Linked DNA regions of Homo sapiens: regions 1, 2, 3, 4, 5 and 7 are each linked to region 6. Evidence: promoter capture Hi-C in 16 types of primary human blood cells and fetal thymus (Javierre and others, 2016). All regions are on one chromosome and are shown on one strand. Each heading gives the region's core, a stretch centred on a gene start or on the middle of the fragment in contact. The rest is flanking DNA. Distances are from core to core; before and after follow the strand shown. Region 1 overlaps DMXL1 (Dmx like 1). Region 2 overlaps DTWD2 (DTW motif tRNA-uridine aminocarboxypropyltransferase 2). Region 3 overlaps DMXL1 (Dmx like 1). Region 4 overlaps DTWD2 (DTW motif tRNA-uridine aminocarboxypropyltransferase 2). Region 5 overlaps DMXL1 (Dmx like 1). Region 6 holds the start of HSD17B4 (hydroxysteroid 17-beta dehydrogenase 4). Region 7 overlaps DMXL1 (Dmx like 1).

Region 1 (3,913 bases), core at 191-2,690, 280 kb after region 6:
TAATCATATTTAAAAATAAGACATTTAGGGGCACAGAGAGGGAAAAAAAAAATAAGACAATATCCTCTTGCAATAAGAAGTCTGTCACCCTACAAAGGCATTCAGACAACACTTTGGAGTGTGAATTAAGCAGGTCATAAGGCCTGATACTGAATCGTCTGTAACTACTATAAATACACAACTCTATAATTCATAATATGAAGGACCACACAAAAGGGAGCTTTCCCTAAAGCAACCGTAATAAAGAAAATCAAGTCTTAGTATTCAAAACCAAAAAAGAAACACCAAAAACAGTTTTAGACATGTACCATTTTTGACTATCAAGTAAATTACATACCTGCTGAGATTCTTGCAAAAGCAAAATCAATTCCATTCTTACAGATGCAAGACCCCCACCATGGGATCCATGAAGTATGCAGTAACTAAGAAACATTCTCAAAAGTGACTGATACTTCAAGAGCCACTGTCTTTTTTCCTGAAAATTTTCTCTCAGTTGTTTCACTTTTGTTTGGTGAGGCAAATCTTCAGCATCCTCATTTAATCCAAATTCATCTTCATTTCTGCCAAATGCAGACTGTAGTTCTTCAGCATCTGAGCAAAAGTCACAAGTCCTCTGAAGAGCTATCACCTCTTTTTCAAGCCAGTGGTATAGTTGGTAACGCAATTTTCCACCATCTATTTCATAGCCAGTAGATAAAGTACGAAGTTCTACTGTGAGAATCTTTAAACATGCTCTAAATTTTAACTGAACTGCAATTATATCTTCTGATGGATTTAAAAGGTCATTTTCATCTAGTGTGCTGAAAGATTCTGTGTAGTTAGAACTTATGTCATCCAACTTTTTATCTGTTTTTCTCTGTAAAGGTTTTAGTTCTTTCATTGAAATAGGGACATCCTCATTTTCTTCATCATTATCACTGTCCCATTTTAACTCTAAAGAGTCATCCTGAAACACAACACTTGGTTGGCTCCAGTCAAAAGAAAGAGTGGAGTTTGATTGCTTCTCTGAGGAACCCTCTGAAGAAGATCCAAAACCATTTATCAGTGACTGTGACCAATCAACAGCAGAAGACTTATCTTCCCTTGCATCCAACTTTAATGGAGAAGAAGGAGAACAGTCTTTACTAGTATCCAGAAAACTAGAAGCCCTATAAAAAGGTCTTGTTTTCTTGATGACTTTAGGCATCTTTGATAATACTTCCAAAGCCAACATTGGGCAGCCAGCTTTTAAATGAGCACTGGCAGTGGTAAAAAATAAACGTCTTTCACTTAAATTAATTGTTCCTGCCAGTCCACTTTTTCCTGTTAGGCTCATATGTGTGGAAAATGTATCAGATGATCCAAAATGACGTCTCAGCAAAAGAGGATGTGTTCTTAGATAATTGTAGAAATTAAAAACTGTAGGATTACTGGCTGATAAAACTTGATCTGAAAGTAAATTCATTTTATGAGCCAAGAAAAGTTATGAACTGTGTGTTTCTATTGTAGTGTCTTTTCTCTATCTACTATGACACCTTTATCTAAAGAGTCTTTTGACAAAATTTTACTAATAGGCCACAATGATCCATGGCACTGAAGAGACAACAACACATTTATAATGAACATGTTCTAACAAAGTAGGAAAACAAAGATTATGATGCTTTCCCATTGAAACAAGTCTCTTCAGGTAATATTCTAGGATAATTTAAAACGTCCAGTTATAGACTCTTAGTTCTTTTTCTCCTACTTCCCTGAACACTTCTCCTCAGTCTGCTTTGCTAGTCCTCCTCATCTTCTCTACCTTTGAACACTGAGAGTCTCCTAGGGTTCAACTGCTGACTTATTTTCTATCTATATTCCCTGAGTTGAATTCATATAGTCCCCATGACTTTCAATAACATCTACACACTGATAACTTGGACATCATCTCTATCTCCAGTCCCAACTTCACACTGAAAACCTAAACTCCTATATCCAAAGGCCTACATTTCATTTTTACTTATGTGTATAAACTCTTGCTTTGGGGCCTTTTTATTTAGTGTGCCCTTGACCCAAACCACTCTTTACCTATATCTATACTGATTAACTCACTCATTTCAACCAGTTCTCTGATCAAAGTTCACCTTATCAGAGAAAGCTCCATGATCTAAAACAATTCTTCCCCATATCATCTACCTATTGTTCAATCTAAAAAGCCAGGAGTTACCTTTGACTCCTAATTCCTTTACACTCCTTATCAAATCCAGTCCTATGTAATCAATCTTAAAATCATATCCCAAATCCAACCACATCTCTCTGCCTCCATTCCAATCATTCTGGTCCAAGCCGCTATTATTTTTTGCAATTTTCTTCTAGAAGAATACAAGTTTAATTCATAATAAAAGTATGTAAAAATGTACTAGTCCCAAATCAAAATACAATTTTTACATGAATATGTGTTAAGTATAAGAAAGTGGGCCAGGGCCAGGTGTGGTGGCTCATGCCTGTAATCCCAGCACTTTGAGCTCAGGAGTTCAAGACCACCCTGGGCAACATGGTGAAACCCCATCTCCAGCAAAAATACAAAAAAATTAGCTAGGCATGGTGGCACACACCTGTGGTCCCCGCTACTCAGGACGCTGGGGTGGGAAGATTGCTTGAGCTTGGGAGGTGGAAGCTGCAGTGAGCTGAGATAGCCCCACTGCACTCCAGCCTGGGTGAGAGTGAGACTCCACCTCAAGAAAGAAGAAAAAGAAAGAAAAGAGAAAAGACAAGACAAAAGGAAAGAGGAAGGGAAAGGGAAAGGGGGCCAGGCACAGTAGCTCATGCCTGTAATTCCAGACTTTGGGAGGCTGAGGTGGGAGGACAGCTAGATGCCAGGTGTTTGAGATGAGCCAGGGCAACAAAGCAAGATACTGTGTCTAATTTTTTTTTTTTTAAATAAAAACACTAAAAAAAGAAAGTGGCTGGAAAAGGCATTTACATTTTCCCTTCATTACATAGAGGCTAGTTTGAAAATCTTTAGCTTAAATGGCTAGGAGACTTAAACAAATGAGTCACACAGCTTTCTCAAAGGTTTAGGAAGTAAGGCGAAGGCCACTTCCTGATTAAATGATAGCACATAAAAATCTATGAACTAGACCCTTTTCCAATTAGTATTCCAAATAATATAATACCTATTTTATCAGCTACCAAACACAATTCAATCTATGAAAACATATCTGAAAAGTAAATCTCATTTTTATATGCATCTATATAAAAAATTCCATTTTATACTGGCCTCTAAGAAAGCTTTAGCAAAGAGGATTTCTAAAAGAAAAGGTACTAGCAGACTCAAAAGAGTACATAAGCTCTACCAGTTCATAACAAGACAGTCAAAAGTTCATCTAGCTAAAGATTTTCTTATCACATCACTTAAGTCAACTTGTTTTTACACTGAACACATTTTTCACTGTAAGAATTCTAAAACTGATTGACAAACACACTAAATTCAACCTAAGATTTAAAAACTGGCTTTATAACAGTATTTCTTCAAAATGTTTATATTCAAGTGTTGACAATATTTATGTTCAATATTTATGTAAATCTATTTTGTAAAAACAGAAAATCCAACGTTCTTTGTTTTCAAAGGATTTATCTTTCTGGAGAAAAAAACCAAACAACCAACCAAAAACTGTTATAAAGACCATGAATTCAATTTGTTTGTATTACCCTTACCACCTAATAGAGTGATCTGCACATGTAGCAATTACCAATAATATTCTTAATCATTAACATCTTAGAAGTGCAGCTTACCATCATTCTCTCTGATAGGTTGCTTTATTAATGTTTCCAGAGCACCACTATAATCTTCCAAAATCCAATATGCCATGCTCCGAAGAAAAGGATCATGATGCATATTTATGTTCAATGAACACAGTTCACTGACAGGAGAATCGATTCCCAAAACTTTTTT
Region 2 (3,677 bases), core at 288-2,787, 480 kb after region 6:
TTTAAAGAACTTCTTGATGTCTGCCTTAATTTCGTAATTTATCAAGGAGTCATTCAGGTTGTTCAATTTCCATGTAGTTGTGTAGTTTTGAGTGAGTTTCTTAACCTTCAGTTCTAATTTGATTGCACTGTGGTCTGAGAGACTATTTGTTATCATTTCAGTTCTTTTGCATTTGCTGAGGAGTGATTTCCAATTATGTGATCAATTTTTGAGTAAGTGCCATGTGTCTAGGAGAAAAATATATATTCTGTTATTTTTGGATGGAGAGTTCTGTAGATCTCTATCAGGTCTGCTTGATCCAGAGCTAAGTTCAGGTCCTGAATATCTTTGTTAATTTTCTGTCTTGATCATCTGTCTAATATTGTCAGTGGGGTGTTAAAGTCTCTCACTATTATTGTGTGGGAGTCAGTCTCTTTGTAGATCTCTAAGAACTTGCTTTATGAATCTGGGTGCTACTGTATTGGGTGCATATATATTTAGGATAGTTAGCTCTCCTTGTTGAACTGAACCCTTTACCATATATAACGCCCTTCTTTGTCTTTTTTGATCTTTGTTGGTTTAAAGTCTGTTTTGTCAGAAACTAGAATTGTGACCCCTGCATTTTTCTGTTTTCCATTTGCTTGGTAAATTTTCCTTTATCCCTTTATTTTGAGGTTATATGTGTCTTTGCATGTGAGATGGGTCTCTTGAAGATAGCATACAGATGGATCTTGACTCTATCCAGCTTGCCATTCTGTGTCTTTTAGTTAGGGCATTTAGGCCATTTACACTTAAGGTTAATATTGTTATGTGTGAGTTTGATCCTGTCATCATGAAGCTAGCTGGTTATTTTGCAGACTTGTTTATGTGGTTGCTTTGTAGTGTCACTGATTTGCGTACTTCAGTGGATTTATGTAGTGACTGGTAATGATTTTTCCTTTCCATATTTAGTGCTTCCTTCAGGAGCTCTTGAAAGGCAGGCCTGGTGGTGACGAAGTCCCTCAGCATTTGCTTGTCTGAAAAGGATCTTATTTCTCCCTTGCTTATTAAGCTTATTTTGGCCAGATATGAAATTCTGGGCTGGAAATTCTTTTAAGAATGTTGAATATTGGCCCCTAATCTCTGCTGGCTAATAGGGTTTCCACTGAGGGTTTTGCTTTTAGTCTGATGGACTTCTCTTTGTAGGTTACCTGGCGTTTCTCTCTGGCTGCCCTTAACATTTTTTCTTTCATTTTGACCTTGGAGAATCTGTTGATTACGTGTCTTGGGGTAGATCTTCTCGTGGAGTATCTTTCTGGGGTTCCCTGAATTTCCTGAATTTGAATGTTGGCTTGTCTTGCTAGGTTGGGGAAGTTCTCCTGGATGAGATCCTGAAGTATGTTTTCCCACTTGTTTCCAATTTTCCTGTCTCTTTCAGGTACCCCAGTCAGTTGTAGGTTCGGTCCTTTTCCGTAATACTGTATTTCTCAGAGTTTTTGTTCATCGTCTTTTCTTTTTTCCTTTTTTCTTTTTCTGAGACAGAGTCTCGCTTTATTAGCAGGCTGGAGTGCCGTGGTGCAATCTTGGTTCACTGCAATCTCCACCTCCCGGGTTCAAGTGATTCTTGTGCCTCAGCCTCCTGAGTAGCTGGAATTATAGGTGCACACCACCATGCTTGGCTAATTTTTGTGTTTTTAGTAGAGACAGGGTTTTGCCATGTTGGCCAGGCTGGTCTCGAACTCCTGACCTCAGGTGATCTGCCTGCCTCGGCCTCCCAAAGTGATGGGATTGCAGGCGTGAGCCACTGTGCTCAGTCTCATTCTTTTTTCTCTATTCTTGTCTTTCTGTCCTGTTTTAGAAAGATAGTCTTACAGCTCTGAGATTCTTTCCTCTGCTTGGTCTATTTTGCTGTTGATACTTGTGATTGCATTGTGAATTTCTTATATTGTGTTTTTCAGCTCCATCAGGTCATTTATGTTCCTCTCTAAACTGGCTGTTCTCATTATCAACTCCTGTATTGTTTTATCATGATTCTTAGCTTCTTTGCATTGGGTTAGAACATGCTCCTTTAGCTCAGTGAAGCTTTTTATTACCCATTTTCTGAAGCCTCCTTCTGTCATTTCAGTCATCTCAGCTTCAGCCTAGTTCTGTACCCATGCTGGAGAGGTGTTGCAGTCATCTGGAGTCACTCTGGATTTTTGAGTTTTCAGCGTTTTTGCATTGATTCTTCCTCATCTTTGTGGGCTTATCTACCTTCTATCTTTGAGGTTGCTGACCTTTGAATGGTGTTTTTGTGGGATCTTCTTTGTTGATGTTATTGTTGTTGTTATTGTTTTCCGTTCGTTTGTTTTTCTTTTAACAGGTCACTCTTCCATAGGGCTGCTGTGGTTGTTGGGGTTCCACTCCAGACCCTAATCTCCTTGGTCCTCCCACACCTGGAGATATTACCGGTGAAGGCTGCAAAACAGCAAAGGTGACAGCCTCCTCTTTCTTCTCGGAGCTTTGTCCCAGGGGCACACTGAACAGATGTTGGCCTGAATGCTCCTGTAGAAGGTGTCTGGAGCCCCTACTGGGAGTTCTCACCCAGTCAGGGGGAACAGGATCAGGGACCTGCTTAAAGAAGCAGTCTGGCTGCCCTTTGGCTGAGTGGGTGTGCTGAGCTGAGGGGAATCCTCCTTGTACAGACTGCCTGGACTCTCCAGAGCCAGCAGGCTGGAAAGGCTAAGTTGGCTGAACTGCAAATACAGTCACCGCTTCCCCCCCGCCCCTCCCCTCTTGGTGGCTCAGTCCCAGGGAGTGATCAGAGATCTGTTCATATAACTCAGGCTAGTGTAGCTGAAATTCCTGCAGGGAAGCCCCACCTAGTGAGGAGGGATGAAGCAGGGTCCCACTTAGAGGAGCAGTCTGACCACAGTCTGCTGTGTTGTGGAAAACTCTTCCCGTTCCAGACCTCCTGGACTCCCCAGAGGAGCCGGCAGGCTGGAACCACAGAGATGGCAGCTGCCCCCACTCCCAAGCCCCTCAGGAACTTGGTTCATTTCAGGCAGTCTCCAGCTTCCTGCCACTGGCCAGCTGGAATTCCAAGCCAGTGGGTGTTAACATGTGAGGTGCCATGGGAGTGGGGCCTGCAGAACGATGCTGCTTGGCCCCCTGGATTCAGCCCCCTTCCTAGGGGAAGGCATGGATGGATTTCCCGCCTTGCTGGAATTCCCAGGGCCAGAGTATGCAAAATTCCTGGGTCTCTGTGCATACCAGAGCCACTCTGTTGAGACTCCGCATAGCGCTATGCTTTGGACCCAAGGTCCTGGTGGTGTGGGCTCAGGGGGGGATCTCCTGATCTGCAGGTTGCAAAGATCTATGGGAAAAACGTGGTTTCCTGGGTGGGGTCGCACACTCACTGCCTCCCTTGGCTGGGGTAGGGCCTTCCCTGGCTTCAGAAGGGGCCGTCTCCCCACCCTGCTTTTCCTCACTCTCTGTGGGTTTAGCCATCCACCTAGTGAGTCCCAGTGTGAGAACCTGGATACCTCAGTTGAAGGTTCAGAATTTCATTTGCCGTTTTCATTCTTCTCTGTGATAGCCACTGACTGCAGCTGCTTCTGGTACAGTACTGTTAACTATGTTCAGAATTCACCAGTTTTTCCACTCAAGTTCATTTTTTTCTGGTTCAGTATCTAACTCAGCATCCCACATTGCATTAATTGTCATGTCTTGTTAGTCCT
Region 3 (3,669 bases), core at 908-3,407, 270 kb after region 6:
ATGATTTTAAAAGGAACTGTGAGATTAAATGTGCAAATTTTTTTCTTTGTTCTTACTAACATTTGATAACCAACAATCAAGTTTCCAGTATTACTGCTGCATACATTAACACACATTCTAAAACTTAAACGGTAGTTTACCAACTTCTCATCAAGTGAAAAGTGAGAACTATAGAGATATTTTTTTACCTTTCAAAAACTTAATGCTAAGTTTTAAGATAAATATATCAATTTATCATTTGGCTTTAACATTACTGTTTTGTCTTTTTTAAGAGATGGAGGTCTCCTTATGTTGCCTAGGCTGGATTTAATCCCTTGACTCAAGGGATATCCACACCTCAGACGCCTGAGTAGCTGGGACTACAGGCTTGTGCCACTGCACCTGGCTGTTTTTGTTTTTATGTTATTAAAAAGCATGTGAACCAAGAAGTATAGACAATCTCTGAAAAAAAAACACGTACAATGTTAAATTAATAGATTTTTGCCAAGATTAGTATGTCATAAAAATAGTTTTCTTTTTTTCTTTTACTGACCCACTGGTAGATAAAAATAGTTTTAAAAGTAAAATATAAGAGAGTTTTTAAAGACAGAAACATTTGAAACTACAAGCTGTGAATCCAGTCACGTGACATGAAAATATTAACCACACTGGGAGGAAATGTTTAAAATTTACAGACTCAACACCAGGAAGTATAAAACCACTTATTAAAACACTTTTTGGCTGGGTGCGGTGGCTTACGCCTATAATCCCAGCACTTTGGGAGGCAGAGGTGGGCAGATCACCTGAGGTCAGGATCCAGCCTGGCCAACATGGTGAAACCCTGCCTTTACTAAAAATACAAAAATTAGCCAGGCATGGTGGCACGTGCCTGTAATCCCAGCTACTCGGGAGGCTGAGACAGGAGAATTGCTTGAACCTGGGAGGGGGAGGTTGCAGTGAGCCAAGATCGCACCACTGCACTCCAGCCTGGGCAACAGAGCAAGACTTCATCTCAAAAACAACAACAACAAAAACAACACTTTTAATGAAGCAGGACCAAAGGAAAAAAAATCGGCAGTTTCACAGTAATGAATGTGTATTACTTTAGATGCTTTAACTAAAAAGACCTTAGCGATGCCACCCAGTAAACAAGAAATGACCTGTGACTTGTCAATAGGGTAGTTACTCCCTCTTCTTTGTCCTCCAATTGTAGGAAGACTTAAGGCAATTTTATGCTTGAATCCTGCTGGGTCAGATTGGTCGTGAAGCTTAGGGGCACCGATAAAAACTATAGCTGCTGGGTGTTCAACTGGTTGTTTTTGAAAATGCTAATAATCAAATATCAAGAACGTTTGCCATTCCTTGGGTGCAAACTAACCCTATGGTTCTACTATTATGGGAAAACCGCTACTTTATTAGTAACAGAAGAAAGAAAATAGTATTAGGGAGAAATTAAGAGCAACTTGAATATAGAATTTATGAATTTTAAGAGGTATAGGGAGGCTACAAAGTGGCTGAAGAAAAACTAAGGCATTCACAGGAAAAACAGAATAATGTCCTGACATAAATTTTAAAAATAAGTTTCAGTTGCTTTCCCAGGAAGCACTTTTTTTTTTTTAAATTATACTTTAAGTTCTATCGTACATGTGCACAACGTGCAGGTTTGTTACATAAGTATACATGTGCCATGTTGGTGTGCTGCACCCATTAACTCGTCATTTACATTAGATATATCTCCTAATGCTATCCCTCCCCCATCCCCCCACCCCACGACAGGCCCCAGTGTGTGATGTTCCCCTTCCCGTACTTTTTAAAACAAAGCTTCCATGTCAAGATAGTAGACTGTACAGACAAATACACCTTCCTTCCCTTAACAATCCTTTCCTCACCCTCAGAATATCTGCACTGTGGTTTTCTAAGAATTATAAAAGTAACTCCCCAAAGAACCCAAAACAGAAATGGAGAAATGGCTAACAGGCTACACATAGGGAAGGGGAGGAGCAGAGGAATAAGACAACATTCCTTCCTATAAATTCTTCTGTACTGCTAGACTTGTTACCACACACATATATTGCTGTGATTAAAACTAAAATATAAGGGGAAGGTTATTAAGTTAATATTTACTTTTCAGTTTATCATTTAAAATCAGCACAATGAAATTAATATTCTGAATGTAGATTTAAATGTCATTTCTTTAAAAACTGAACTTAGAGTTCAAGACCAGCCTGGGCAACATGGTGAAACCCAGTCTCTACAAAAAAATAGAAAAATTAGCTGGGCATGGTGGCACATGCCTGTAGTCCCAGCCACTTGGGAGGATCACTTGAGCCCAGGAGGTGGAGGTTGCAGTGAGCTGAGATCACACCATTGCACTCCAGCCTGGGCAACAGAACAAGAACCTGTCTCAACAACAAAACAAACAACAAAATAACTGAACTTAAAGTAACCAGCAGGTCTCACTCTCTATTTCTCAATCTAAGGCACCCATATCCACAGAGCTATTCATGAGTGTGCCAGAGTATACACGAAGCTTCAGGAGGCACATTAGTCTGGACCTTCTAACTGAGCCCCCCAAATATGGAAAAGATAAAAGTCATGCAAGTTTAAGACAAACAGATTTCAAATTTATTTCTTGCTTTCAGCAAGCCAATTCAGTCTAAGTCCTCAGTCTCCTAAGAGGTATATGTTAACCTTTATCTTCAGGTAAAAAGTTTGAGAACTACAAATGTACGTGAACACTAAGTATAAAACAAATCCTCAAAATTAAATGTAAAACATGATTTTCCAAGTAAACTTCAAATATTCCAAAAATAAAAGGATTAAAGAAGCAATTAATTGAAGGTACTTCTTAATCATCAAAGAATAAGATTAGTGATTAAAAAAAAAAAGTCTGGCCAGGCACAGTGGATCATGCCTGTAATCCCAGCACTTTGGGAGGCTGAGACAGGCAGACCACGTGAGACCAGGAGTTTGAGACCAGCCAGGCCAAAATGGCAAAACCTCATCTCTACTAAAAATACAAAAATTAGCCAAGTGTCGTGGTGTGCACCTGTAGTCCCAGCTGCTTGGGAAGCTGAGGTACAAGAATCACCTGAACCTGGGAGGCAGAGGTTGCAGTGAGCCAGGATCATGCCAGTGCACTCCAGCCTGGGTGACAAAGTGAGACTCTGTCTCAAAAAAACAAACAAACAAACAAAAAAAGTCTGGAAGATGATACTATCCAGCTTTTAGAAAGACTGACCCTCAAAGTCTTCCTAGGATCATTACCATACACCGTATCTTGAACATGGCTCCATAAATATCTATAAAAATGAAATAATAAATATCTTAATAGAAAGTGGTGATTTGTCTCCAAACCACAGAGCAAGGGAGTCTCCACGGTAGTTGTACAAAATGATTCACCAGAATATGGAAGGAAAATACTACAACTTCTACTTAGATTTATTTTTTGATAAATAGGGGGAAAGGGCAGAAGGAGAAGGGAAGGAGGTAGAGGAGCAGAAAGTGACAGGGGAAGAAGTAGAGGGAAAGGAGAAGGGACAAGAAGAAAGGAGAGATGGGGGCAGGTGGAGGTGAAAGCAGAGGAAAGAAGGGGAAGAAGGAAAGTAAGGAGAAGAAACTAAATTTTGTCAATGTTTAACATCTGGATCGATAGTAGTAGACATCAATATACATATATTGAGAATTTGG
Region 4 (3,450 bases), core at 728-3,227, 500 kb after region 6:
AGGCTGGGCACGGTGGCTCACGCCTGTAACTTCAGCACTTTGGGAGGCCGAAGCAGGTGGATCACTTGAGGCCAGGAATTTGAGAAACTTCACCTCTACAAAAAAAAATCCAAAAATAACATTAATTATTCAAATACAAAAATTAGCCAGATGTGGTGGTGCACACCTGTAACCTCAGCTACTCACGAGGCTGAGGCATGAGAATTGCTTGAATTGGGAGGCGGAGGTTGCAGTGAACTGAGATCATGCCACTGCACTCCAGCCTGGGTGACAGAGTGACACCTGTCTCAAAAAAAGAAAAAAATCCTTTATGTATTCAGCAATATCTATTGAGCACCTACTATGCCAGGTGCTGGGGATATAGCAGTGAAAAAGGTAGGCTAAGTCCTTGCCTCCCTGTAGCTTACATTTTAGAGAAGGAAACCCACATTCAGCTAACATAATGTCAAATAGTAGTAAAATGCTGTGAAGAAAAATCAGTCAGAATAAGGGGATAGAGAGTGATAGTGAGAGAAAAGGTGGATGATTTGATTGATTGATTGATTCATTGCTAGGGTTTTTCTCTCTCTGTTGCCCAGGCTGGAGTACAGTGGTGTGATCATAGCTCACTGCATCCTCAAACACCTGGGTATGAGCAGTCTTCCTGTTTCAGCCTCCCAAGTAGCTGGGACTACAGCTGTGCACCACCGTGTCTGGCTAATTTTTAAATTTTTAGTAGAGATGAGGTCTTGCTATGTTTCCTAGGCTGATCTCGAATTCCTGTGCTCAAGTGATCCTTTCTCCTCAGCTTCCCAAAATTCTGAGATTACAGGCATGAGCCACCATGCCTTGCCTTGGATTATTTTAGAATGGGGCATTGGAGCAAAGACCTGGTCTAAGTGAATCTTTAAGCTCTGCAGATATCTGGGATAAGATACCAGGCAGAGCACCAGTTGCTAGACACTCAGGTGCATAAGACTACTTTAGGCCACACCTAATACCAGAAAGATATAGGCCAGGAGCCACAAATTTGCATTTGTGGCATTGTAGAGCAACCTTAGATGACCCTTTTCTGCTGGCATCCTTGTGGCAGTCTGGCATAGCAGTCCAGCTCAGGTGGAAGGTGATATGTTCCACACTAGGCAGATAAGGTAGCCTAATAACTTTATGCTCTCAGGAGCCAACATCTTTTGTAACAACTCTCTAGCAAGTTTCTAGGGTTCCAATTTAGGGAAGTCCAAAGTATGGTGTCCCCATAGGGTCTTTATAGGTCTCTAGTCCATATGCAATCTACCAGTCAGTTGTCATTTAAATCACATACAGTGTTGCTTAGCAATATAGTTATCATGTTGCCAGGGTAACAGAGCTCGTTAGTTAAGGGAAGGTCAAATTTTCATGCAGGGGGAAGGGTTTTGGGTAAGCCATTTTGTCCATAGCTTTGTTGTTTATTATTCTTTGATTACTACTTCTCACAAAAGTTCATCAAGCTTTGCCAACCTTCAGATGTAGACAGGAATGGGTAAGTGGGCAGGATGTAGATACGAATGAATTCAAGTCACTTGAAAAATAAAACCCACTGGTGTGGACACCTCTAGAGCCTTGCACATCAAACTGTGGTCTTTACATTCTTCACCCCCTCACTCCTTACTCACTAGCAGCATCATCACCACCTAGGAATTTGTTAGAAATGCACATTCTCAGGCTTACTGAATCAGAAGCTCTGAGGGCTGGGGCTCAGCTGTCTAGTTTAATGAGTCCTCTAGGTGATTCTGATAACAGCAAAAGTTTGGGAATCACTGTACTAGGGGATACAAAAATTAAATGAAAACTCTGCTCTTAGAGGGTTCATCATCTAGAAGTGAGAGGAAGATGTGAAAACAAAATTTTGTCATATGATGTGGTCAAGTGTTTAAATGGAAGTATTAATAGGAATCTAAAGGAAATACATACGACTAAAATAAAAGAAAGTGAATTCAGCCCTGGGAGTAACAGAGACGTGCAAACAAGATGAGAGGCGTTGTCTTGGAGCATAAGCAATGTGGTCCTGGTTGGATACTGTACTTAAAATAATATTGTAAATATTGCAGATTTATGGGTTAAAGACTGCTGTTGTGGGCTGAGAATCTAACCACTTCCAGACAACCAACTTTTAAATAGACTTTTGGAGTAGAGTTTCTAAATGTTCTTAAAGGTTCCTGTCAGGCCTTTGAGCCCAAGCCTGCATGTTTACATCCAGATGGCATGAAGCAAGTGAAGAATCACAAAAGAAGTGAAAATGGCCAATTCCTGCCCTAACTGATGACATTACCTTGTGAAATTCCTTCTCCCGGCTCAGACGCTCCCCCACTGAGCACCTCATGACCCCCGCCCCTGCTTGCCGGAGAACAACCCCTTTGACTGTAATTTTCCACTACCTACCCAACTCCTATAAAATGGCCCCACCCCTATGTCCCTTTGCTGACTCTTTTTGGACTCAGCCTGCCTGCACCCAGGTGATTAAAAAGCTTTATTGCTCACACAAAGCCTCTTTGGTGGTCTCTTCACACGGACGCGCGTGACATTTGGTGTCGAAACATTTGGTGCCGTGACTCGGATTGGGGGACCTCCCTTGGGAGATCAATCCCCTGTCCTCCTGCTCTTTGCTCCGTGAGAAAGATCCATCTACGACCTCTGGTCCTCAGACCAACCAGCCCAAGGAACATCTCACCAATTTTAAATTGGGTAAGCGGCGTCTTTTTACTGTCTTCTCTGTCCTCTCACTATCCCTCAACCCCTTTCTCCTTTCAATTTCTGCGCCACCTTTCAATCTCTCCCTTCCCTTAATTTCAGTTCCTTTCTTTTTCTGGTAGAGACAGAGGAGACGCGTTTTATCCGTGAACCTAAAACTCCGGTGCCAGTCACAGACTTGGGAAGACAGTCTTTCCTTTGTGTTTAATCACGCGGGGACACCTGCCTGATTATTCAGCCACATTTCAGAGGTGTCTGATCACCATGGGGACGCCTGCCTTGATCCTTCACCTTGGTGGCAAGCACTACCTCCCCGAGGCGGGGCAAGTACCCTCCCACCCCTTCTCTCCATGTCTCTACCCTCTCTTTTCTCTGGGCTTGCTTCCTTCACTATGGGCAACCTTCCACCCTCCATTCCTCCTTCTTCTCCCTTAGCCTGTGTTCTCAAAAACTTAAAACCTCTTCAACTCACACCTGACCTAAAACCTAAATGCCTTATTTTCTTCTGCAACACCGCTTGACCCCAATACAAACTTGACAGTGTTTCCAAATAGCCAGAAAATGTCACTTTTGATTTCTCCATCCTACAAGATCTAGATAATTCTTCTCGTAAAATGGGCAAATGGTCTGAGGTGCCTGACGTCTAGGCATTCTTTTTCACATCAGTCCCTTTCTAATCTCTGCTCCCAATGCAACTCGTCCCAAATCTTTCTTCTTTCTCTCCTGTCTGTTCCTTCAGTCTCC
Region 5 (3,398 bases), core at 159-2,658, 360 kb after region 6:
TAATCATTTCTAGCTTTTGATTTAAAGAAAGAGATGTGTAACTCTTCCTTTCTGAACACTTAAAAGACACTGTAGGGTTGTCACTATTCATAATTTCTATATCATTGTGTCTCAGTGAATAGGGAGGTCTGAGCGCAGTTCATTGGCATTCCACAACCATTACAATAGTAACAAAGATCACTGATCATCATAACAGATATAATAATAATTTTAAAAGGGGCCAGGCATGGTGGCTCACACCTGTAATCCCAGCACTTTGGGAGGCCAAGGCAGGCAGATCACTTGAGGTCAGGAGTTCAAGACCAGCCTGGCCAACATGGTGAAATCCAGTCTCTACTAAAAATATGAAAATTAGCCAGGCGTGCTCATTTGAACCCAGGAGGCAGAGGTTGCACTGAGCCAAGATCGTGTTGCTGCACTCCAGCCTGGGTGACAGAGCAAGACTCTGTTCAAAAATAATAATAAAAAAAGTTTGAAATATTTTGAGAATTACCAAAATGCGACACAGAGACACAAAGTGAGCGCATGCAACTGGAAAAATAGTGCTGACAGATTTGCTCAACAAAGGGTTGCCACAAAACTTCAATTTGTAAAAATCATAATACTTGAAGTGCAATAAGGGAAAGAGCAAGAAAACAAGATATGCCTGTATTCAAGAAAACTGAAAACATGTCCACACAAAAACCTGTACATCAATGTTCATACCAGCATTATTCATAATGGCCACAAAGGGAAACAACTCAAATGTCCATCAACTGTCAATGGCTAAACAAAATATAGTATATATCCATACAATGGAATATTATTAAGCCATAAAAAGTACTAGTAAATGCTAGAACATGGATGAACTTTACAAAAGACCACATATTTTATTATTTCACTTATATGAAATGTCCAGAATAGACAAATCCATAGAGTCAGTAAGGCAGTTGGTGCAAATAAGCAAACAAGCAATGTAAGTGGCTGTAAGATAGCAGCTGCCAGTGGCTAGGGGTAGTGGCAAATAGACAGTGATTGGTAATAGACACGGGATTTCTCTTGGGGGTGAGGAAAATGTTCTATAATCAGATTGTGGTAATACACATTGTTAATACACTAAAACCACTAAAATTTACACTTTAAAAGGGTGAACTTTATGGTATGTAAATTATATTTCAATAAAGCTGTTATTTAAAAAATAATAACTGTGGCTCCAAAAAGGTGGTGTTTCACTTGCCTCCAAAGAAAATGAAAAACAGATTCATACAACATTGCACCTGTAATCCCACCGAATCAGGAGGCTAAGGAGAAAAGATCGCTTGAGCCCAGGAGTTTGAGATCAGCCTGGGCAACACAGCAAGACCCTATGTGAAAAAAAAAGAAAAAGAATTTTTCTTAAATAAAAGAAAAAGAAAACCCAAAACAAATATACAGTGCTGAAAGTATCACCAGAAATAACCCAGAACTCACATATGAAGACAAGACAGTTCCTGGGGCCACAGGAATGAAAAAAGACAATTTTCAGAAATGAAAAAAGACAAAGAGACTTCCACATTCACAACACCCCTCCCCCAATTCTGCCCAGCACTTAGGGCACAGAAAATTTCCCCAAACATTGTTTCTACACTGGAAAAAGGGAGATTATGGTGAACAGCCAGCTTCCCCACCATATTGGGTTCTCTAGCAGAATATCTGTCCCAGCCCTAACCCATAAGAAGCATCACAAGTGCCTAAAGAAATATCTCTGAGGACAGGGAGAAACAAAGAGGGCAGGCAGTATTATTATCTGCATCCCTGAAAATAGTGCTCCATAACTCAGCCAAAGGAGATGCCACATGAGAGAGGCTGTTCAGTAGTAACACCACCCTGTAGGAGGTTTGTCCCACAGGTTTCCAGCACATGAACCCTTAGCCAGCATTCCCCCTCTGCTGAGATACCTCCTGTGGGATCTCCTCACTTTAGGAACGGCAGCCCTTTGATGGTTTACTAGAGCCAAGGTGAACCTGGACTTAAGGCAACACCTGGAGCCTAAAAAGGGGCAGTGGCTTAGCAGTGAAGAATCTCCAAGTAAAGATATCCAATATAAACCAAAACAAGCCAAAGACTAGAATAAATAACTAATCCATAAATGCAAAGACATAGGTGTGCATCCACAAGAAACAGCAGGCCAAGCACAGTGGATCACGCCTGTAATCCCAACACTGGGAGGCCAAAACAGGAGGATCCCTTGAGCCTAGGAGTTTGAAACCAGGCTGGGCAGCACAGCAAGACTTGCCTCTACAAAAAAACAAAAATAAAAACATTAGCTGGGTGTGGTGGCATGTGCCTGTAGTCCCAGCTACCAAGGAGGCTGAGATGGGAGGACAACTTGAGCTGGTAAATTAAGGCTGCAGTGAGCTGTGATCTCACCACTGCACTCCAGCCTGGGCAACAGAGCAAGACACTGTCAAATAAATAAATAAATAAATAAATGCAGCAAACAGGGAACCATGATCTCACCAAACAAAGCAAGGAACCTGACCCCAACCAGTAGGCGATATGTGAGCTCTCTGACCAAGAATTCAAAATAGTTTTAAGGAAACAACTATTCAGTCATCTCTAAGATAAGACAAAAAGCAATTCAGAAATTTATCAGAAAAAGTTAATAAACAGATTGAAATATTTTTAAAAAATCAAACAGAAATCTTGGAACTGAGAAATACATTTGCTGAACTGAAAAATTCATTAGAGGCTCTCCATAGAAGAATGGATCAAGCAGAAGAAAGAATCAGTGAGCTCAAAGACAGGCTATTTAAAAACACACAGAGGACTGCCAGGCACGGTGGCTCACGCCTGTAATCCCAGCACTTTGGGAGGCCAAGGCGGGCTGATCACAAGGTTGAGAGATCGAGACCACCCTGGCCAACATGGTGAAACCCCGTCTCTACTAAAAATACAAAAAAAAATTAGCCAGGCATGGTAGCAGGCGCCGGTAATCCCAGCTACTTGGGAGGCTGAGGCAGGAGAATCGCTTGAACACGGGAGGCAGAGGTTGCGGTGAGCCGAGATCGCGCCATTGCACCCCAGCCTGGGCAAAAAGAGTGAAACTCTGTCTCAAAGAAAAAAAAAAAAAAAACAGAGGAGAAAAAAACAAAAAAGAAAAGTAATGAAGTTGCCTACAAGATACAAAAAATTACCTCAAAAATGAAATCTAAGAATTGGCATTCAAGAGGGATTTGAACAAGAGAAAGTAGAAAGCTTATCCAAAGAAGTAACAGAAAACTTTCTAAAACTTCAGAAAAGACATAAATATCCAGGTAGACAAAGGCCAAAAAACCCCAAACAGATTTGACCCAAATAATACTAACCCCAAGTGGCCGGGCACAGTGGCTCACACCTGTAATCCCAGTACTTTGGGAGGTTGAGGCAGGCAAATCACC
Region 6 (3,859 bases), core at 1,212-3,711:
TACATAAATTATTAGCCCCTTCCAAAAACAACCCAAGGCCAGGAGTAGTGACACACATCTGTAATCCCAACACTTTATGAGACAGAGGTGGGCGGATCATTTGAGGTCTGGAGTTCAAGACCAGCCTGGCCAACAGGGTGAAACCCCGTCTCTATTCAAACCACAAAAATCAGCTGGGCTTGGTGGTGTGCACCTGTACCCCCAGCTACTTGGGAGGCTGAGGTAGGAGAATTGTTTGAACCCGGAAGGCAGAGGTTGCAGTCAGCCAAGATCATGTCACTGCACTCCAGCCTCGGCAACAGAGCAAAACTCCCTCTCAAACAAAAACAAAAAGAACCAAAAATATACAGTTTTCCAAAACTAGGAAATTTCACCAAATAACTTATTTTAGAATTTAATCCAAGCAGAAGGATCACTTGAGGCCAGGAGTTTGAGACCAGCCTGGGCAACAAAGCGAGACTCCATCTCTTGAAAACATTTAAAAATTAGCTGGGCGTGGTGGCACATGCCTACAGTCCTAGCTAGTCTGGAAGCTGATGCAAAAGGATCACTTGAGCCCAGGAGTTCAAGGTTACAGTGAGCCATGATCGGGTCACTGCACTCCAGCCTGGGTACAGAGTAAAACCTTTAGCTCTGAAAAAAAAAAAAAATTTAATCAACTCTGAATGGGTAAGAGAGAATTTAACCAGTTTATGAACAGCAGGTGCTAAGTTCATAACTGTCTAGTCACAACTCATTGTTTCACAAAATCAATTTTGTGGGTTACAATTACAATTTATAAATAAAACAGAATAGAAAATAAATTTCAGGATGCATTGCCTGTACTACACACTATATCATGAACTGGTTTTAAATACAGATGTATGTGCTTGTGTAAGTGTACTGAGTACTGGTGTAAAATGTACTGCATACCATGTGTAAGTATGCTAATGGTGTCAAAAGAAGCAGTCCCTATCCTTGAATGATTTTCAGATATAGCCCCTGAAAAGGAAAGTCTCCTTAGCGATGGCAAAAACGTCTTAGAATGTAATCCCTGGACCTCCTGCATGAAAATTATCCAAGAGCTGTCAAAAAAGATTTAAAACACCAAGCGTTGTAAAATACATTATTTACAATAAAAGCAAAGTGTAAACAAAATGTTTTCCTAAAAACATTTAGAAGGTATGACTACACCCAAATACATGCCCATGCAGAGATAACCAGACAGCTATGGGTATAAAATACTTGGCTATTCATCAACACTGAAAGCATTTTCTGAAAGGCAGCATAAGAAGCCACTTTATCAATACAGATATGAAAGTACATAGGAATTAATTGACAGAATTCCAGTTTGTAACGTTTAATATATAACTCAAATAATTCATGCATTAGGGCCTTTCCAGGTATAAGGTACTACCAGTGGAGAATCAAAGGTGCATAATGTCAAGATCCCTGCACTTGGAGGTTACAGAGGTCACCCACTGGTGAGAAACTAATGTAAAATCTCACTGCACAGCATCTATGTTGGTATGAATGGTTTGTTTTAATTTTTTGTACTTTAAAAAATGGGGCTATTTCACATAACAATTTTCCATTTTGCCGCTCCTGAAATACAGGCAACTTTCCCACTGGCCGGTCCACTTCGGAATTCTCTGCTCTCCAGTTCCTCAGATGTGCCCATCCTACTCCCATTTTCTTTCTCCATCATACGCCTGACCCCTGTGCGCATTTGAGCTTACAACCTCTGCCAAGACTCCAGTGGATTTCGAGAACAGATTGTGACTTGCTAAGCATACAAACTCCAACGGGGAAGGGCTCTTATCAGACGCCCTCTTTAAAGAAGGTCCTCTCACGAACTTAAAATCTTACGACAGAGGGAAACAAACACTGAACGACCGAATGACTTTTCAGGAGCTGACATCTCTGCGCTTCAGGGGGCGAATTCCAGCCCCCGCCCCTCGCGGCTTTTCAGTCCTTTAAAAGACTAGGCAAAGATCTAAGAGAGTTAATTGCAGGAAGAGTAACAATCGATGCCCACAGATAAGGGTCAGGGAGAACTTTCACCCAGTTTTGCAATCAGCAGCCCAGCCTGGCCTCTCCTCTCAGGCAGGACCTTGGGAAGCCCACACCGGGGTGCTGGGGAGAAGCGGGCTGTACCTGCTTGAGAGACCAGGTGTTTCCGGCTCTTTCCTCCTCAAGAGATGCGGTGCCTCAAGAATAACCATTCCCCTCCCCACCACCTCAGCGGGGTGACCTCAGCTGCGGCTGCGCGCGTATGCCGGCCCGAAAAGAGCAGCCAGCTGCGCCTCAGCAAGGGGCGCGGCCTCCAACCTTCGCATGCTCACCTGCCCCCGCGCCGGTGACCAGTACCACCCGCCCGTCGAACCTCAGCGGTGAGCCCATGAATAAGGCCTGCAACGACACACACACGAACAAGCAGAGCCGCTGGACGCCGACTGCGGGACAGGAGGAGGCGGGGAATGGCGGGGGCGGGACGAGGGTCAGTGACTTGCCGATTTCTGGTAGGAAGATGAGCGCAGAGCGCGCGGCTCCCTTGGAATCCTGGGAAATGTAGTTAAGAGTGACTCCACTCGCTGGAAGACTTGCCTTCCAGGGGCCATTTCTGCGGCTGGAAGCAATGGGAGCTGCTAGGACTTGTGTAGAAGAATAGTTAACTCGACACCTTGCGTTCATCTATTCACCTGTCGTTTCATCATTCACTCAATAAACGTTTTCTGGGTTTAGTTGCTGACCTAGAGAAACAGCATGCGGCCCCTATCCTTGAGGGGCTTCCAGAGATAGCCCCTGGGAAGGAAAGTCCCCCTTAGGGATGGTAAAGATTTGTCAGTGTAATAATCCCTGCACTTCTACATGCAAACATCAGGGGACTGTCAAAATGCAGAGTCCTGGACCCCCACTGCTTACCTCCCAAAATAGAATCTCAAGGGGCAAAAACATTTTGACAAGTGTTCCTAAATGATCTTGCGTTTGTATGTTGAGAACAGTCATAGTTCAATCAACATTTACTGAGCATCTCCTGAGTTTTGATAGGATCCTCAAGCTACTCAGAGTCAGATGGTAAACTTTCAATAACGGTGCAGCCTAGACTTGTGACCAATGTGTGTAAGTGAGCTAATGGTGTCAAAATAAACAGACCCTATCCCCGCTGGGGAGAAAGAGGAAAAACTTTCTGAAGGAGGACCAGGACCTAAAGTGGCGACCCCTGCAAAGAAAGAAGGGCATTACAGGCAGCACAAACACTAGCTAGGTTTGGGGAGAAAGAGGGTAAAGCCACAAAAGCAAAGCCAGCAAGATCATGTTTAGATGTTTGAATTTTGTGCTGAAAACGGTTTTAAGTAGGATTACTCCAGAGAGTGGTGGGAACACATTTACACTATGGAAAGATCACTTTGCCCATTATGGAGGATTGATTGGATGTTGCGGGAAGTCATGGACCCCAAACAGAGGGACCTGCTAGAGCCGCAGCAGAGGAACATAAATTGTGAAGATTTCACGGACATTTATCAGTTCCCAAATAATACTTTTATAATTTCTTATGCCTGTCTTTACTTTAATCTCTTAATCCTGTTATCTTCGTAAGCTGAAGGTGTACGTCACCTCAGGACCACTGTGATAATTGTGTTAACTGTACAAATTGATTGTAAAACATGTGTGTTTGAACAATATGAAATCAGTGCACCTTGAAAAAGAACAGAATAACAGCAATTTTTAGGGAACAAGGGAAGTCAACCATATGGGCTGACTGCCTGCGGGGTTGGGCAAAAACAGCCATATTTTTCTTCTTGCAGAGAGCCTATAAACGGACGTGCAAGTAGGGAAGATATCACTAAATTCTTTTCCTAGCAAGGAATATTAATAT
Region 7 (3,489 bases), core at 347-2,846, 340 kb after region 6:
AGAAAGGAAGAAATCTTATAATCTCTCACTTAACAAGTATTTAATGAGCATCTTCTTTGTCCCGGGCACTGTGCTAGACATTGGAAATACAATGACAAACAAAACATTGTCGTTTTTCATGAGTTCATATTTCAGCAGAAAGACATGGAAATATGATACCATGTGGAAGTGTTACATACATGATAGAAATGCATGCAAAGCTTTATGGAAGCCCACAGGAAGGAGACATTAATGTGTACCTGTAGTAAAAGTGCCAGGAAAAGTGAGGAAATGAAACCTGGTCCTTAATGGATGAATAAGCAGAAGAGACAGGCATTTCAGAAAGGAAACCTAACATGAACAAAGGCATGAAGACATATAAATTTATGTATTTTCCCAAGAATGCCTCTTAATCTGGTATAGGTTAACGAATAACGTACACAGATAGGCTAGAAAAAAAATTACTACGGAAAAAATGCCAAGGTGAGACTGTGAAGAGTTTTTCAAGTTCACAGCGTTTGGACTTTGTTATAGGTAGTTGGGAGTAAAAGATTTTCAAGTGGCAGTGGGGGATTGTGGGGGAGTTGTTACAAAATTGGATCTGTATTTCAGAACAAGAGGGCTTAACTGGAAGAGGGGCAGTCAACAGATGGAGAGGCCTGTGAGTCTCCCTCTATTGAGATAACATACAAAAATCACACATACAATATGTGCATTTTTCCAGAAAGATAATATGTAACTTACATCGAAATTTCAAAGACTCTAGTATACAAAGAAGGTTAAAAATACTTTTTAGAAAACAACTCCAGAGACAGACAACATCAGGGAAACCATAAGTGTGTGGTTAACCAACTATTAAACTATTAAACCTGGTTAATTAACTATAGAAATTCAGATGGTAGGCCAGGCACGGTGGCTCACACCTGCAATCCCAGCACTTTGGGAGGCCAAGGCGGGTGGATCACCTGAGGTCGGGAGTCCAAGATTAACCTGACCAACATGGAGAAACCCCATCTCTACTAAAAATACAAAATTAGCCGGGCATGGTGGAGCATGCCTGTAAACCCAGCTACTCAGGAGGCTGAGGCAGGAGAATCACTTGAACCCGGGAGGCAGAGGTTGCAGTGAGTTGAGATCACACCATTGCACTCCAGCCTGAGCAACAAGAGCGAAACACCACCTCAAAAAAAAAGGAAAAAAAATTCAGATGGTAAATAATGAGGATCTCAACCAAATATTTAAAAAGCAAGCATTTGAAAGCCATTTCAAAAAGTATTGTCAAGGCTGGGTGCAGTGGCTCACACCTGTAATCCCACCACTTTGGGAGGCCAAGGTGGGAGGACTGCTTGAGCCCAGGAGTTCAAGACCTGTCTGGGCAACATAGTGAAACCCTGCCTCTACAGAAAAAAATTACAAAAATTAGTTAGACACGCACTTGTAGTACCAGACACTAGGGAGGCTGAGGTGAAAGGATCACTCAAGCCTGGGGAGTCAAGGCTGCAGTGAGCTATGATTGTGCTACTGCAGTCTAGCCTGGGCAACAGAGCAAGACCCTGTCTCAAGAAAAAATGAAAAAAAGAATTGTCAAGATTTGACACCAAATAAATACAGAGAAAAAACAAGAGGGTTAAAGGACAGATTCCAACTCTATGACTTGGGAATTAAGTAGAAGGCCGTGCTATCATCCATACAAAAGACAAGCAATTTTGGCAAAAAAGCTGACAATAAAGATGGCATTCACCTTGGCAATTTAAGACTATAGATTTGTGTATTTCTAGAACAATCACTTTTTTAAATTTTTTGAAGAGACAGGGTCTTGCTATGTTGCCCAGGCTGGTCTCAAACTCCTGGGCTCAAGCGATCCTCCCAACTCAGCCTCCCAAACTGCTGGGATTACAGGTATGGGCCAGCATGCTTCGCCCTCGTTTTCTTGTTTCAAAAGGAAAGTGGATCTCTGGCATAGACTTTAGATCAGAAATCCCTGTGTCTAAATCCCAAGTAAGATGCTTAATTAGCCATGTGAATTTGATCTAGTTGGGTAATTTCTGAACTTCAATTTTCTCATCTATAAAATTTGAGGTTTAAATACAGTTGTTGTAAGGATTAGCTATATAATATGCACAAAGTCTCTAGCACAGGCCAGGCACTAAGCAGAAGCTCAATAAATAGTAGAGCAACTAGACAGAAGGTTTCATAGACAGGGGCCAAAAAAAAGCACAAGAAGTAATGAAACATTCCATTTAAATATGTTGATTATTCCACTTTTGAACTTACCAACAGATACAACTTTTCTTTTGCTTAATATAAACTGAAGATAACATTAAGATATCCCATAAAAGATTAAGAATTTAATACAGAATATAAACTTAATCCCAGGTATGGAATGGAACAAAAGTAGGTAAGATATAATATGGTATACTGATTTCAAACTCTAAGAATTAGATATTACAGATATTAAATTACAGATATTAAAGCAGGATATTATGGATAGTAAAGCAGGAAAAAAGCATAAAAAGTCTAAAACAGAAAATCTTATGAATTAGGCAACATAAAATATTAAATTTGGACACAAAAGAAAGGCATTAATCAGTTTACCAATAGTTTTATATCTCTCTCTGATGACTTCTATGTCTCAAAGATAACTTTTCTTTTTTTTTTTCTGAGACAAGTTCTTGCTCTGTCACCCAGGCTAGAAAGCAGTAGCACAATCATGGCTCACTGCAGCCTCAACCTCCTGGGCTCAAACAAGCCTCCCACCTCAGCCTCCTGAATAGCTGAGACCTCAGGTGCCAGCCACCAAGCCTGACTAACTTTTCAAAAATTTTTTTGTAGAGATGGAGTCTCCCTATGTTGCCCAGGCTGGTCTCAAACTCCTGGGCTCAAGCAATTCTCCCCACTCAGCCTCCTAAAGTGCTGATATTACAGGTTTGAACCACCGTGCCCAGCCCCAAAGATAACTTTTTATGTTCTAGATTCAAATGTCTATATATTGCTTTATGATATACAAGCTTCTCAAGGTCCACATATCCAATTAATACCTTATGTTCCACTACCTCTAACTCCTACATATTACTCTTTGTGTGGTCATAGATACTCTCAAAGTAATTTCAAATCCAGTTGTTAAGTAATGTCAATTCTACTGCCTAAACACATTTCATATCCATGTATACCTTTCACTATTCATTAATTCATTTAATATTAATTGAACACCTACTATGGAAAAGGCATTGAAATAAGTTCTTATTTCTCATCCAGACTAATGAGAATACAACCTCTCCAAAGGTCACTCCTTCTCCTGTTCCATTTGCCACTGACCCTTCTAACTCACTGCTAGCAGACAAATCTCGCAAAACCATAAATCTTGTATGACTAGCCTCTTTTGAAAACCTATAGTTTTTAGACAACCATAAAGAATTAAATTCAAATTTTTAGCATGACTTTAAAGGTCTCCTATAACATGGTAAGGTCTTATCTCCTTACCACCACTGAGACTCAGCCCAGTGAAATACT

The links. The method cuts DNA at HindIII sites, captures the fragments that hold promoters and counts their contacts. A CHiCAGO score of 5 or more calls a contact.
Region 1: a fragment that was not itself captured here is called in contact with the fragment with the promoter of HSD17B4 in region 6 in 8 of 17 cell types (total B cells, activated CD4 T cells, total CD4 T cells and 5 more); the score reaches 9.0 in total B cells.
Region 2: a fragment that was not itself captured here is called in contact with the fragment with the promoter of HSD17B4 in region 6 in 7 of 17 cell types (non-activated CD4 T cells, total CD8 T cells, naive CD8 T cells and 4 more); the score reaches 12.8 in non-activated CD4 T cells.
Region 3: a contact is called between a fragment that was not itself captured here and the fragment with the promoter of HSD17B4 in region 6, in 5 of 17 cell types (non-activated CD4 T cells, activated CD4 T cells, naive CD8 T cells and 2 more). The highest score is 7.3, in non-activated CD4 T cells.
Region 4: a contact is called between a fragment that was not itself captured here and the fragment with the promoter of HSD17B4 in region 6, in 1 of 17 cell types (activated CD4 T cells). The highest score is 5.6, in activated CD4 T cells.
Region 5: a fragment that was not itself captured here is called in contact with the fragment with the promoter of HSD17B4 in region 6 in 6 of 17 cell types (non-activated CD4 T cells, total CD8 T cells, activated CD4 T cells and 3 more); the score reaches 9.7 in non-activated CD4 T cells.
Region 7: a contact is called between a fragment that was not itself captured here and the fragment with the promoter of HSD17B4 in region 6, in 5 of 17 cell types (total B cells, activated CD4 T cells, non-activated CD4 T cells and 2 more). The highest score is 8.3, in total B cells.

Annotation. Positions count from the first base shown.
Region 1 is chr5:119,167,705-119,171,617 of GRCh38, reverse strand. It overlaps DMXL1 (Dmx like 1), which reads right to left. Exons shown (of 44, transcript NM_001290321.3): 23 at 3,754-3,913; 24 at 338-1,428. Among named protein-coding and RNA genes, the nearest start is that of MIR5706, 15 kb to the right of the region's middle. The HindIII fragment of the contact is 3,622 bases long and covers 1-3,251 here.
Region 2 is chr5:118,968,242-118,971,918 of GRCh38, reverse strand. All of the region lies in intron 1 of DTWD2 (DTW motif tRNA-uridine aminocarboxypropyltransferase 2), which reads left to right. Among named protein-coding and RNA genes, the nearest start is that of MIR1244-2, 4.5 kb to the left of the region's middle. The HindIII fragment of the contact is 1,010 bases long and covers 1,033-2,042 here.
Region 3 is chr5:119,185,005-119,188,673 of GRCh38, reverse strand. The region is part of intron 28 of DMXL1 (Dmx like 1); the gene reads right to left. Among named protein-coding and RNA genes, the nearest start is that of MIR5706, 32 kb to the right of the region's middle. The HindIII fragment of the contact is 709 bases long and covers 1,803-2,511 here.
Region 4 is chr5:118,951,372-118,954,821 of GRCh38, reverse strand. All of the region lies in intron 1 of DTWD2 (DTW motif tRNA-uridine aminocarboxypropyltransferase 2), which reads left to right. Among named protein-coding and RNA genes, the nearest start is that of MIR1244-2, 21 kb to the left of the region's middle. RefSeq lists an enhancer at 3,227-3,450. The HindIII fragment of the contact is 1,017 bases long and covers 1,469-2,485 here.
Region 5 is chr5:119,090,256-119,093,653 of GRCh38, reverse strand. All of the region lies in intron 1 of DMXL1 (Dmx like 1), which reads right to left. Among named protein-coding and RNA genes, the nearest start is that of DMXL1, 21 kb to the right of the region's middle. The HindIII fragment of the contact is 3,620 bases long and covers 1-3,218 here.
Region 6 is chr5:119,451,099-119,454,957 of GRCh38, reverse strand. HSD17B4 (hydroxysteroid 17-beta dehydrogenase 4) reads right to left here and starts at 2,461. Exons shown (of 24, transcript NM_000414.4): 1 at 2,325-2,461. The coding sequence starts at 2,382. RefSeq lists an enhancer at 2,311-2,360. The HindIII fragment of the contact is 7,394 bases long and covers 1-3,859 here.
Region 7 is chr5:119,106,492-119,109,980 of GRCh38, reverse strand. The region is part of intron 4 of DMXL1 (Dmx like 1); the gene reads right to left. Among named protein-coding and RNA genes, the nearest start is that of DMXL1, 37 kb to the right of the region's middle. The HindIII fragment of the contact is 2,787 bases long and covers 203-2,989 here.